Linked DNA regions of Homo sapiens: region 2 is linked to region 1. The links are contacts of gene promoters, found by promoter capture Hi-C in blood cells and fetal thymus (Javierre and others, 2016). All regions are on one chromosome and are shown on one strand. The core of a region is centred on a gene start or on the middle of the fragment in contact, and the rest is flanking DNA. Distances in the headings are between cores, read along the strand shown.

The links. Contacts are between HindIII fragments. The CHiCAGO score rates a contact against its expected background, and 5 or more counts as called.
Region 2: a fragment that was not itself captured here is called in contact with the fragment with the promoter of TCF7L2 in region 1 in 1 of 17 cell types (M1 macrophages); the score reaches 5.0 in M1 macrophages.

Annotation. Positions count from the first base shown.
Region 1 is chr10:112,947,603-112,953,125 of GRCh38, forward strand. TCF7L2 (transcription factor 7 like 2) reads left to right here and starts at 2,645. Exons shown (of 15, transcript NM_001367943.1): 1 at 2,645-3,343; 2 at 3,605-3,671; 3 at 3,881-4,005. The coding sequence starts at 3,155. LOC124902502 (a long non-coding RNA gene) reads right to left here and starts at 4,740. Exons shown (of 2, transcript XR_007062291.1): 1 at 4,176-4,740; 2 at 3,027-3,405. The HindIII fragment of the contact is 8,187 bases long and covers 1-5,523 here.
Region 2 is chr10:113,483,586-113,489,108 of GRCh38, forward strand. LOC107984270 (a long non-coding RNA gene) reads right to left here. Exons shown (of 2, transcript XR_001747591.2): 2 at 1-2,032. Among named protein-coding and RNA genes, the nearest start is that of HABP2, 67 kb to the right of the region's middle. The HindIII fragment of the contact is 2,320 bases long and covers 1,074-3,393 here.

The sequences.
Region 1 (5,523 bases), core at 1,395-3,894:
TGAGGGACTTGCAGAGCATCAGGGATCTGGCCCCTCTGAGATCTTGCTGGTCTACTCAAGCCTTTGTACAGCACCAGGCAACGAAATTAAATGTGGGACATGCACTATCACAGAATAACTTTTTAATTGCTTAATTAAATCAGAGATTTAAGGAAGGAGAGATTCAAAAGAGTTCCCTTTGAATGAGAAAAATAAGGATATGCCAAAATGGATAAAGTTACTAATCATGGGAACAAAGCCCTTAGTATTTACATATGATAAAAATGCAGGCCAGTATAGTAAAATCAGTAAGTACATTCTTTAAAATTTCAATTCAGTATATTCCTGAGATTTTATTATACAGGTAGTACTATAAAGAACATAGAAGACCTCATTATCCAACTTAATTCAGACCAGGGTTTGATTAAAAAAATAAAAAACAAAAAACTACCACACAGGACAAAGAAATTGCCATAAAATTGAGTTCCTATAAATGTGTTCCAGTTTAAGTAACTAAGTCCCTAAAATGAGCCTTAGTAAAGTCTACGCTGCATATAGACAGACTTAGGCACATCAAGTATACAGGTGACAATTAGCAAGTGTATAAAGCTATGGTCATTTCGCTAAATGTGTAAATCTAAAGGCAACCAAGTAAAAGACCTAAAAAAGGAAACTGTTAAGTCCATTTGTACATGGATTTAACAGTGAAGCATTTCATTCTTCATGTTTTCACTTGGTGTCTTGAAATAATCCCCTTTCTGTCTCCACTCTCCCTCTTAGACACTGCACCTGCCTTATTTATTTATGAAGTCTGAAGGTTAGTCCTACCTGCTGAGACTAATTAGCCCTGTGCTTTGTATCCTATGCAATCCTGTCTGATTAAATGTACACATTTGTTTTACTTCTTTTCAGGCTCCTTCTCACTCTACTTCTGATATTCTGATTAATATCAAAGTTGGGAGTTACAGTGATTCTCCTCTGCCTCCCCCCCAACCCATTTTTATTTTGCCTGCATCTTATTCTTTAGTGTGCAAATGTGGTTGTGATTTTTTTCCAGTGCAGGGGAATTCGTTGGCCTTGTCAATCTCGGTATCATTATTTTTAGTAGTCTTTCTGAGACTTTAGCCTATAAAACAGTTTTGCTGAAACCCCAAACTCTCTAAATATTACATGGCAAATTTGCTTTCTTTTGGAAACCTCGGTGCTGATGGGCCAGCTGAAGTGCAGGTGAGCTTTTTCAGGGAAGGGTGGGACAACAGTACATCCTGGACTCTAGACTAATACTACTCCTAAGAGGCAATTTGCTAAATCCTACTGATTTATTTTTTTCTTTTTTCTCTTTTTCATGTTGTAGTGTCCAGTCTACTTCTTACTGGGTATTTGCAAAAATGAATTTTCTTGCTCTATCACCCAGGAACATTGTGTTTTGGGAGCTGGGTCTTTCCTCTTTAACATAATTCCATTCCCCATTTTGTAGCAAATCAGTCTGCTCCTCCTCTAATACCTAAAAGTCAACAAATACCTGCCTCAAGCCCCAGGTTTCCCATCTTCTCCCGAAGGTCTTCTAGCATCGGTTTGGTTAGCAATTTCCTGCCAGAGCCACCTACATCTTGATTATTTTGGTCAGTCTTTCGGGGATTTCATTTCAGACCCCCTTCGAGAAACACTGTAGCCCAACTGATCCCAGGGGTTGGTGAACTTTCAGTTTTATTTTCCCTGACGGTGTTAACGCCCAAACTTTTCACCTCCTAAGTCAAAAAGGACTTTGACTCTAGCTCATTTCCTACTACCTCCAACGTCAGTTAAAAAAAAAAAAAAAAAAGCAAAACACCACTCTACATTTAAAAGAATCATATATTTTTCCTTAAGGATACTTTTAATGTTTCTGACATTTAGCATTTGTTTTTTGCATAAAAAGTCGTTTTGGCATATCCATCCTAGTGGGACTTAACATTTCATGAAATGATTCACTACTAATAAACAAAAAAGGGAGGAGGGAGGCCTCATGGGTTAATAGTTTCTTTCATTGTAGATGACCAGGAACTTTGACCAGCCCCTTCACTTCCCCAAGCTCTCTGAAAGTGGAGGGTTGATCTTTCCTTTTGACCACTTTTGTCGCATCCCGTCTAAGGGTGGCTGATTTCACTGCTGAATTAACCACCAAGCACCCCCCCACCCCCTCCCCCAGCCACCACTTTCTCAAATACTACCCTTCCTTTTCCCCCTCCCTTAAGACTTATTTCTAATATTTCTAAAGTGCACTGTTTTGGGCCTCTCCCCATCCCCGCCCCCCAAGTGGGCTTTCCTTCCGCCTTCCTCGGCTCGGATTCCTGACTTGGTCGCCACCCCCTTCTCCTCCTCTCCCACCCCGCATTGTCTTTCTGAAACCGCCCCCTCCCGGAGCAAGTCCCTGCACCCTCGCCCAGAATCCCGGGCTCGCACACACTCCGCGCAGGCCGCTCCCCCTGCACACTCCTCCCTCCGTCTCCCCCCGGCTTCCCCGCCCCTCTCTTCCTCCTTCTTTCCCTCCTCCCTCTCCCGGCGCCCGAAAGGATCATTGTTAGCCGCCCCCGCCCCGCCCACCCCGGCTGTTTATTTATGCACACGTCACTGGGCCGGCCCCGCCCTCCGGCATCTCATTAAGGCAGTGTGTTCCTCTCGCCCTGTCAATAATCTCCGCTCCCAGACTACTCCGTTCCTCCGGATTTCGATCCCCCTTTTTCTATCTGTCAATCAGCGCCGCCTTTGAACTGAAAAGCTCTCAGTCTAACTTCAACTCACTCAAATCCGAGCGGCACGAGCACCTCCTGTATCTTCGGCTTCCCCCCCCCTTTGCTCTTTATATCTGACTTCTTGTTGTTGTTGGTGTTTTTTTTTTTTTTACCCCCCTTTTTTATTTATTATTTTTTTGCACATTGATCGGATCCTTGGGAACGAGAGAAAAAAGAAACCCAAACTCACGCGTGCAGAAGATCTCCCCCCCCTTCCCCTCCCCTCCTCCCTCTTTTCCCCTCCCCAGGAGAAAAAGACCCCCAAGCAGAAAAAAGTTCACCTTGGACTCGTCTTTTTCTTGCAATATTTTTTGGGGGGGCAAAACTTTTTGGGGGTGATTTTTTTTGGCTTTTCTTCCTCCTTCATTTTTCTTCCAAAATTGCTGCTGGTGGGTGAAAAAAAAATGCCGCAGCTGAACGGCGGTGGAGGGGATGACCTAGGCGCCAACGACGAACTGATTTCCTTCAAAGACGAGGGCGAACAGGAGGAGAAGAGCTCCGAAAACTCCTCGGCAGAGAGGGATTTAGCTGATGTCAAATCGTCTCTAGTCAATGAATCAGAAACGAATCAAAACAGCTCCTCCGATTCCGAGGTAGGAAAAGCCCCTCGGGCTGGTGGGGTTTTTTATCTGTTTCCTGGGCTTGGCAAATGTTGCTGAAAGGGGAGAAATCGGGGCTGGGGGCGGCGGCGGGGCCCGGCGGGCGGCGTGTGCGTACGGTGCCACCATTGCAAAAACTTGTAACCCTGTTTTTTTCTACCCCCCCCTCGACCTCGCCGATTCTTTTTCTCCCCCTTCTCCCCCTTCTGCGTGGCGTTTGCCCCTCGCCCTCCCCACCTCCACCCCTCTGGGAAGGCGGAAAGACGGCCTCCGCCTCGCTCCGAAAGTTTCCGAGACAAATCCCGGGAAAGTTTGGAAGAAGGTGAGTACGCCCCGCGCGCCCCGCAGCCGCCCGGAGCCGCCCCCCGGGCCGGCCGCCCCGCGCGCCCCGGCCCCGCGCCCGGCTCGGCCTGGCCCTGCGCCGGCCCGGTCGGGGCGCCCGGCCCCTCGGGGCACTTTCTAAAAAGTTTCTCCTCACTCTCTCCCGCTCCGCGCGGCCGCCGCTGTCCCCTCGCCGCCCCGCCATGTTAGCGGCCAAGAGGCAAGATGGAGGGCTCTTTAAGGGGCCACCGTATCCCGGCTACCCCTTCATCATGATCCCCGACCTGACGAGCCCCTACCTCCCCAACGGATCGCTCTCGCCCACCGCCCGAACCGTAAGTGCCTCCGCGCCCGGCCCCCGCCCGCTGCCCGCCCGCCCGCGCCGCCCGCCGGGCCCCGCATGCGGCCCCTGCCCTGCCCCCTCCCCGCCTCCCCCTCCCCGCCTCCTCCCCTCCCTCCCTCCCCTCCCCCGCTCGTGGCCCAGGAGGCCCGAAACTCTCCAAACTTTTCTGCCTTTTGTGGACTGGATTTGTTTGCACTTCGCCACGTTCTTGCTTTCAGTTTGCTGCCTCGTGATGTTGGGGAGACCTCTCTGTCCAAGCAGGGCTTTGTTGGTGGGGAGGGGGGGGAATCCGAAGAACTTTCCTTTGCGTTCTGGTTCCCCCTCCCCCTTTGGTGGTGGTGTTTGTTTCTTCACCCTGGGAAGATGACTCTGTGGCTCTTCCTTTGCTCTCTCTCCCTCTCTCTCCTTCTCTTCCTTCCCTCTTCTGTGGCGTCTTGGGCTTTCCCCGGTTAACCCCTTGGCTGCCGCTGCGGGCCACGAGTGACTGACTGTGCTGCGCCCGATGCGCGGGGTAGAGAGTGGGTTTCCTCCAGGCATTGGACTTGAGAACTGGCTAGCGCGCAGAGCCCGGGGCCCTGGAGAGGCTCCTTGGCTTTCTCTTTTGGGCGACTATGTATTTAGCTTTCTAGTGGAGATTGCTGGCTCTCGGCCCTCCTTCCCCCTTCCCCTGGAAGGTCACACTTCCCAGATTGGTCCCACCGCAAACTTGGGGGCTCTGAGGCGTCCTTTTCTTTGGCAACCCGCAGGGCCGCGAGCGCCCTGGGCGCCGTGGCGGGCTCCGCTGCCCGGCGCACTGGCTGCGGGCTCTCCCGGGCCGCGCAGGGCAGCAGGGCTGAGTGGGGCGGGGAGGCCCCTGCGGCCCGGATTCTTGGTTTGTGTGCAGCCGGAATGGACTCCTCCAAGCGGACTTGTGTATTTCTAGGGAATTTTGGCGCCTTGGGATGTATGGCGGGGTCGGCGCTCGCCAGCTTCCGTGTAGGCCCGTCGTGGGCCCCAGGGGGGCCAGAGACCAGGGTGTGCGGGCTCAAGGAGGTGCGGGGGCCGAGGGAGGCTGGGGCGCCTCTCCTTCAAGGGAGTGGGCCGCCGATCGCCGGCCACCCAACTTTGGGGGCCCCAGGGCAGCGCGGGGTGCCGGGCTCGGGGGGCGCTTCCTGCAGGGTCGGTCCCGCGCCCAACCCTGACATTTGTTAATACGGCTCATCCCCTCCCCCACCGGCCTGTGCCCCCTGCCCTCACCCTGAACCCCCTCCTCCTCATCCCTCCCTCCCTCTTCTAAGAAGCCTGGATTACGAATCCCTGGACGCAAGACGCATTTGTGCCCGGCTTCCCGGTATTGTCATTTTACACCTTCTCCAGTTTGGTCCCCTACCCCTTATTTACACACACGACTTTTGTTTTTTCTTTTTCGGTAACTCTAGATAGCAATTTGAAATAATGCACCCACTGTTCAGCAGCCATGGATTCGGTGCTAATGGCCGAGGGCTTGCCGGACGGGAGTCGATCAGATCTA
Region 2 (5,523 bases), core at 984-3,483, 540 kb after region 1:
TTGTTATTTCCTAGAACATCACTAGCAGGATTTGAATAAAGTATACATACATATAAACCTAATACTGCTTATTTTATTTCCAAGAATGACTTGCCATTAGCATCAGTCAGGGCCAAGAACACACACTTAGAACAGGACAATGGCTACAAGCAAGATTGACTGATCAGCTCTTGACCTATGTGCTCTCCTATGTGCTATATGCTCTTCCACCTGCCAGCCTTTCCTGCTCTTGCTTTTCATTTGACATTGATGGATTCAAACCAGTGATGTCTTTATGTTGATCATTAAGCCTTGATTCCTGCAGGATAATTACAATACTTTTTCCCAATTTCTTGACTGATTTTTCTTTCGAGATTTGGAGAAACATAAAAAATTCTCAAGAAATACTGGGAAGGAATTCCAGCGTGGAAACACTAGTCAGGGTGTATGTATGAAGCAAAGGGAGGAGGTTCTATTACTAAAAGACAGGAGAAAATGGGCACTCAGAGTCATCTCTGCTCAGGACTAGCTAACAATTTATAGGCTCAATGTGAAATGTAAATGTGGAGGACTCTTGTTATAAAACTATTCAGAATTTCAAGGTGGCAGCCATGGAGCATTAAACCAAGTGTAGGGCCCTTGTAAGTGTGGAGCCCTGTATGACTGTGTAGGACCCACACCCATGAACCTGGCCCTGTCTCTGCTACATTGTGTCATTTAGAAATCTGAATTGATGTCCGTTTTAGTGGCTGCATAATATTTCATTGTGCAGATTTACCATAATTTCTATAACAATTGCTGTATTCTTGGATATTTTTATGGCATTGAATGAAGCAATCTTTTCAACAGCCCTCAGGAGCTGCAGACCACTGTTGCACGTGGGCTGTTACCCACAGGGTTTGAGTATGAGCTAAGGCAAGAGAAGCAGAAACCAGGACCAGATGGGAACTCCCAGGAAGAAGGCAGCATGGTCATGAGCAACATCAAAGACATCAAAGATAAATCAAGCCAAGACAGGGTCAGAATACATCAGTAAGGGAAGAATGGCAGACAAGGCAAATGTGGGCCTGTCCTTAGAGGTGGGGCCTCCAATAAGCTTCCCAAGGAATCTTGCTCAACCAAGGGCAGTTGTTGCCTTTTGCTTGGGGCAACCTGGTTCTTCCCAGTGTATCTTTGAGCTGATCTCTCCGAATTTCAAAGAGCCCATGCCTGCTCAGGCCATCTCTATTCATGTTGGATGACTGTCTCTCTTATAAACTCTGGGCAGACTACGAATCAGTCCTTAGGGGCTAGGAGAGGAGAGGAGAGGATATGCTGGATGATCACTTTCTGCAAGTCTCCAGAACCTCCTGTTGACTTCTGTGTGATGGTCAACCTGAGACGTCTTGTTCAGTGCAAATGAATGTGTTCTTTTTGGCTGACACATTTAGTAGGAACAAATGAATGTGAAAGAGTAGGAGATGCTATAAGGTAGGGAGGAGAAAAGCATAGGGAACAGTTGTCTCTGGGTCCGAGACATCTCTGACACTATAATTTATAACCCAAATGATCTCAGTCAATGCGCTTAGCTTTTCTGTGCCTCATATGTAAAGTGGGAGCAATGTCCCATTTATCTGAGGGGTCAACACACCTTTGCTGTAAAGGGCCACATAGTAAAATAAATATTTTGCACTTTTCAGGGCCTAGAGCTTTTGTCACAACTACTCAACTCTGCCATTGTAGAGTAAAAGCAGCTATAGACAATATGTAAATAAATTGTGGTGGTTATGTTCCAATAAAACTATATTTACAAAAACAGGTAGCTGACAATGGTTTGCCAAATCCTAGCCTGTTTCATAGAACTCTTGTGAGAATTAAATGAGGTACGTGTGTCAAACGCTACTGCAGGCCCTCCAGGATAAGAGTCATTGTCATGAGGAGTAGGACAGACAGAGAAGAGCAGGTGGGAGAGTTGCTCACAGCCTCACAGGCTTTCAGGACTGGCCCCCCGTCATTTGCTAACAATGCCTCTTTTGACGATGTCCAAAGGGTCTTCCTCATCCACTTTTTCTTCCTAGGAGCCAAAGTACCAAAAGGAGGAATTTTGAGGCTCTATTAAACAGTTATAATGAAACATTTATCTTCTATATTAGTCATTCTGTGTAATTATTTCTGAGGATGAATTCTTTCCAAGATATATTTACAGACACATGGCTGCAACCATGAGACACACCACTGAGAATTTTCCAGCTCTTCTTTTCCATGCTCTATGTTCTTTTTTATTCTTCCATTCATTTTTAAAACATTTTATTGTGGTAAGAACGCTTTACATGAGATCTACATTCTTAACAGATATTTAAGTGTACAATATAGTATTGTTATCTCTAGGCACAGTGTTGTAGAGCATATCTTTAGAACTTATTCATCTTGCATAACTGAAATTTTATTCTTGTTAAATACCAACTCTTTTCCTCTCTCCCCCTAGTGCCTGGCAACCACAATTCTATTCTTTGCTTCCATGAGTTCAACTATTTTAGACACCTCTGTATGTTCTTAAAAAAAAATCTCTCCTTTTCAATATTGTCAGCTAAGTCCTCCCAGGGGAACACTTGGGGAGAAGTTATCTCCAGCCTGAGACCCCCTTGGTAAGCTGCAAAAAGTTGGAGGTCACTCAGAGTAATGGTGTCTAAGCAGAACTTGATTTCTGCATTTTTTTTTTCATCATAGAATCTCCTAAAGAGCATTTTAAGATGGAGAATCTGGTCTTGGGTAGGACCTAGGAAACTGTCATTATTTAAAATGCCCCAGGACTGTATAGTCCTAGCTACTTGGGAAGCTGAAGTGGGAGGATCATTTGAACCCAGGAGTTACAGGCTGCAGTGAGCTATGGTCGTATCACTACGCTCTAGCCTGGGCGACACAGCGAAACCCTATCTCACAAATAAATAAATTAATAGTCCCCAGGTGATTCCGTGGCCCAGCCAAGTATCTTCTTAGTTCTAGGCCAGCCTCCTCCACTTAACCTCTCTGTAATAGTTCCCAAACTCCACTCTTCAAAACTCCTAGCCCCACAGTTGCCTGCATTGCCTCCTCTTTTCTTTGTCTGCTTGCTTTGTTAGCCAGAAGGCAGAGAGCACGAAGGCATGTTAGTACCTGCAGTGATGGCTCTGCACTCCAAGAAGGAAATGAGTTCTCATCGGCTTGGCCAGCTGGGAATGCTGGAACTGGTATTCTCAGCCTGTGGACTCAAGAGAGCACTGGGCCAGGAGGGTTTCAGTGTTTCCAAGTCAATGCCAAAGGCACGTACACCGGTGGATGGGAAAGACATTGATTTTTCTTGAGATAATACCTCAAGTGTATTTGTTCAGTGTCTTTCAGAAACAAAGCCTTGTCTGATTTATTTTTATTGTTTTTTTGTTTGTTCCGAGAAGACAAAGCTTGTCTGACTAAAGCAAACCTCAGTGTTTTACTGTTCAGTAGCTCCTGGGAGTCAGGTTGTTCACATCCCTCTGTTAAGTGCATTGATGCTTCAACAGATACTTAGTGAGCACCTACTGTGTGTCATTGTGGGCTATAGATAGCTTTGGGAGAGTCAAAAGACCCGGTGGTTTCTGAGATGGCAGCCTGGCTCCTGGAGCCTGCAGTTCCCCATGGAGGGGCCTCTTAGTTCTAATCCCAGTCCTGCACAAAGAAACCAATCCCAGACAAAAGTATTTTAAGAGCACTTGGACAAAATGCTCAGCAAAACAGGTTTGTTGTCTGGCCTTGATGTCTCACTTCCTGTACCTAATTCTTGCCTTAGTTCCAGCAAGCATTTATTAAGTGCCTGCCACATAACACTGTGCTAAGTGCTTCCCACCTGCTGGCTGATTTGATTGATCCTCCCACAATCATAGCGGGTGATATGGTTTGGATTTGTGTCCCCACCCAAATCTCATGTTGAATTGTAATCCCTATTGTGAGAGAAGGGGACTAGTGGGAGGTGATTGGATTATTGGGGCAGATTTCTCCCTTGGGACTGTTCTCATGTTCATGAGTGAGTTCTCAAGAGATCTGGTTGTTTAAAAGTGTGTAGCATGTCCTTGTTTGCTCTCTTCCTCCTGCTCCAGCCATATAAGACGTGCCAGCTTCCCCTTTGCCTTCTGCCATGATTGTAAGTTTCCTGAAGCCTCCCCAGCCTCCTGTACAGCCTGTGGAACCATGAGCCAATTAAACCTCTTTTCTTTATAAATTACCCAGTTTCATGTATTTATTTACAGCAGTGCAAGAATGGACTAATACAGCAGGTATGATACCCATAAGACAGATGGGGAAATTGAAGCTTGAGAGACGATTTGCCTGACAACAAAGCTAGTCCTCCCAACTCCTGTGCTAAACAGACTCCCATAGCTTCTGTAACTACCCAGCTTCTACCATAGCTTCTGTCACTACCCAGTTAATTGTGCTCCCAGGTCAGATCTCGTCTTCTCCTTTAAGCCCTCAACCCTGGCCTTTAAAAATCAAGTATCCTGTCACCATGATGCTTTGGTGGGGAAATAGTGCATTCATTATTCCAAAAGAACAGGCCTTGTGACTAGAAAACCACTCCTTTCCCTCCAGGTCATTATTCTTTCTGGGGAATCACTAAATCCTGCTACGCCCCTGCTTCTCAAAGTATAGTCTCTGCACTAGCAGCAGCAGCAGCACCTATGAACTTATTAGAAATAAGTAAATTTTGGGGCCCCACCCTGGACCTACTGAATCAGAATCTCTCAGGATAGGCTCAGGAATTGTGTTTTAATAAGTTCTCCAGGTGGCACTGATGCATGCTGAAGTTTGAGAACCACTGGCCTAGATGGGATGCCTCAGGTACTTCAATAATAGCACAGTAGTGTGCACTTACCACAGACTGCTGGCTCTATAAGATATCCTGACAAGGGACAACAAAGACAGTGAGGGTGGCACTTCTGTGTTCAACAATGTGTGAACATTGCATATTCTGCTTCCCCCTTGGAAATTCTTAAAGATATTGGCATACTTAAGACCAGAAAGAGTCTTGCAATAGGAAGAGCTGCTTAACTTTACTCAATCACTATCTCCTAAATTGAGTTTTAATTTTAATTATGGAGTTTTTCTACTTTTTTATAATTTCAACTTTTCAGGGGATACATGTGCAGGTTTGTTACACAGGTATACTGCATGGTGCTGAGGTTTGAGGTACAAATGATCCTGTCACCCAGGTACTGGGCATAGTACCCAATATGTAGTTTTTCAACCCTCACCCTCTAGTAACCCCCAATGTCTGTGTTCCCATCTTTATGTCCATGTGTACCCAATGTTTAGCTCCCACTTGTGAGAACATGTGGTATTTGATTTTCTGTTTCTGCATTAATTTGCTTAGAATAATGGCTTCCAGCTGCATCTATATTGCTGCAAAGGACATGATTTCATTCTTTTTTATGGTTGTGTAGTATTTCGTGGTGTGTATGTACCAGATTTTCTTTATCTAGTCCACCATTGATCAGCACCTGGGTCAATTACATGTCTTTGCTATTGTGAATAATACTGCAATGAACATTCAAGTTC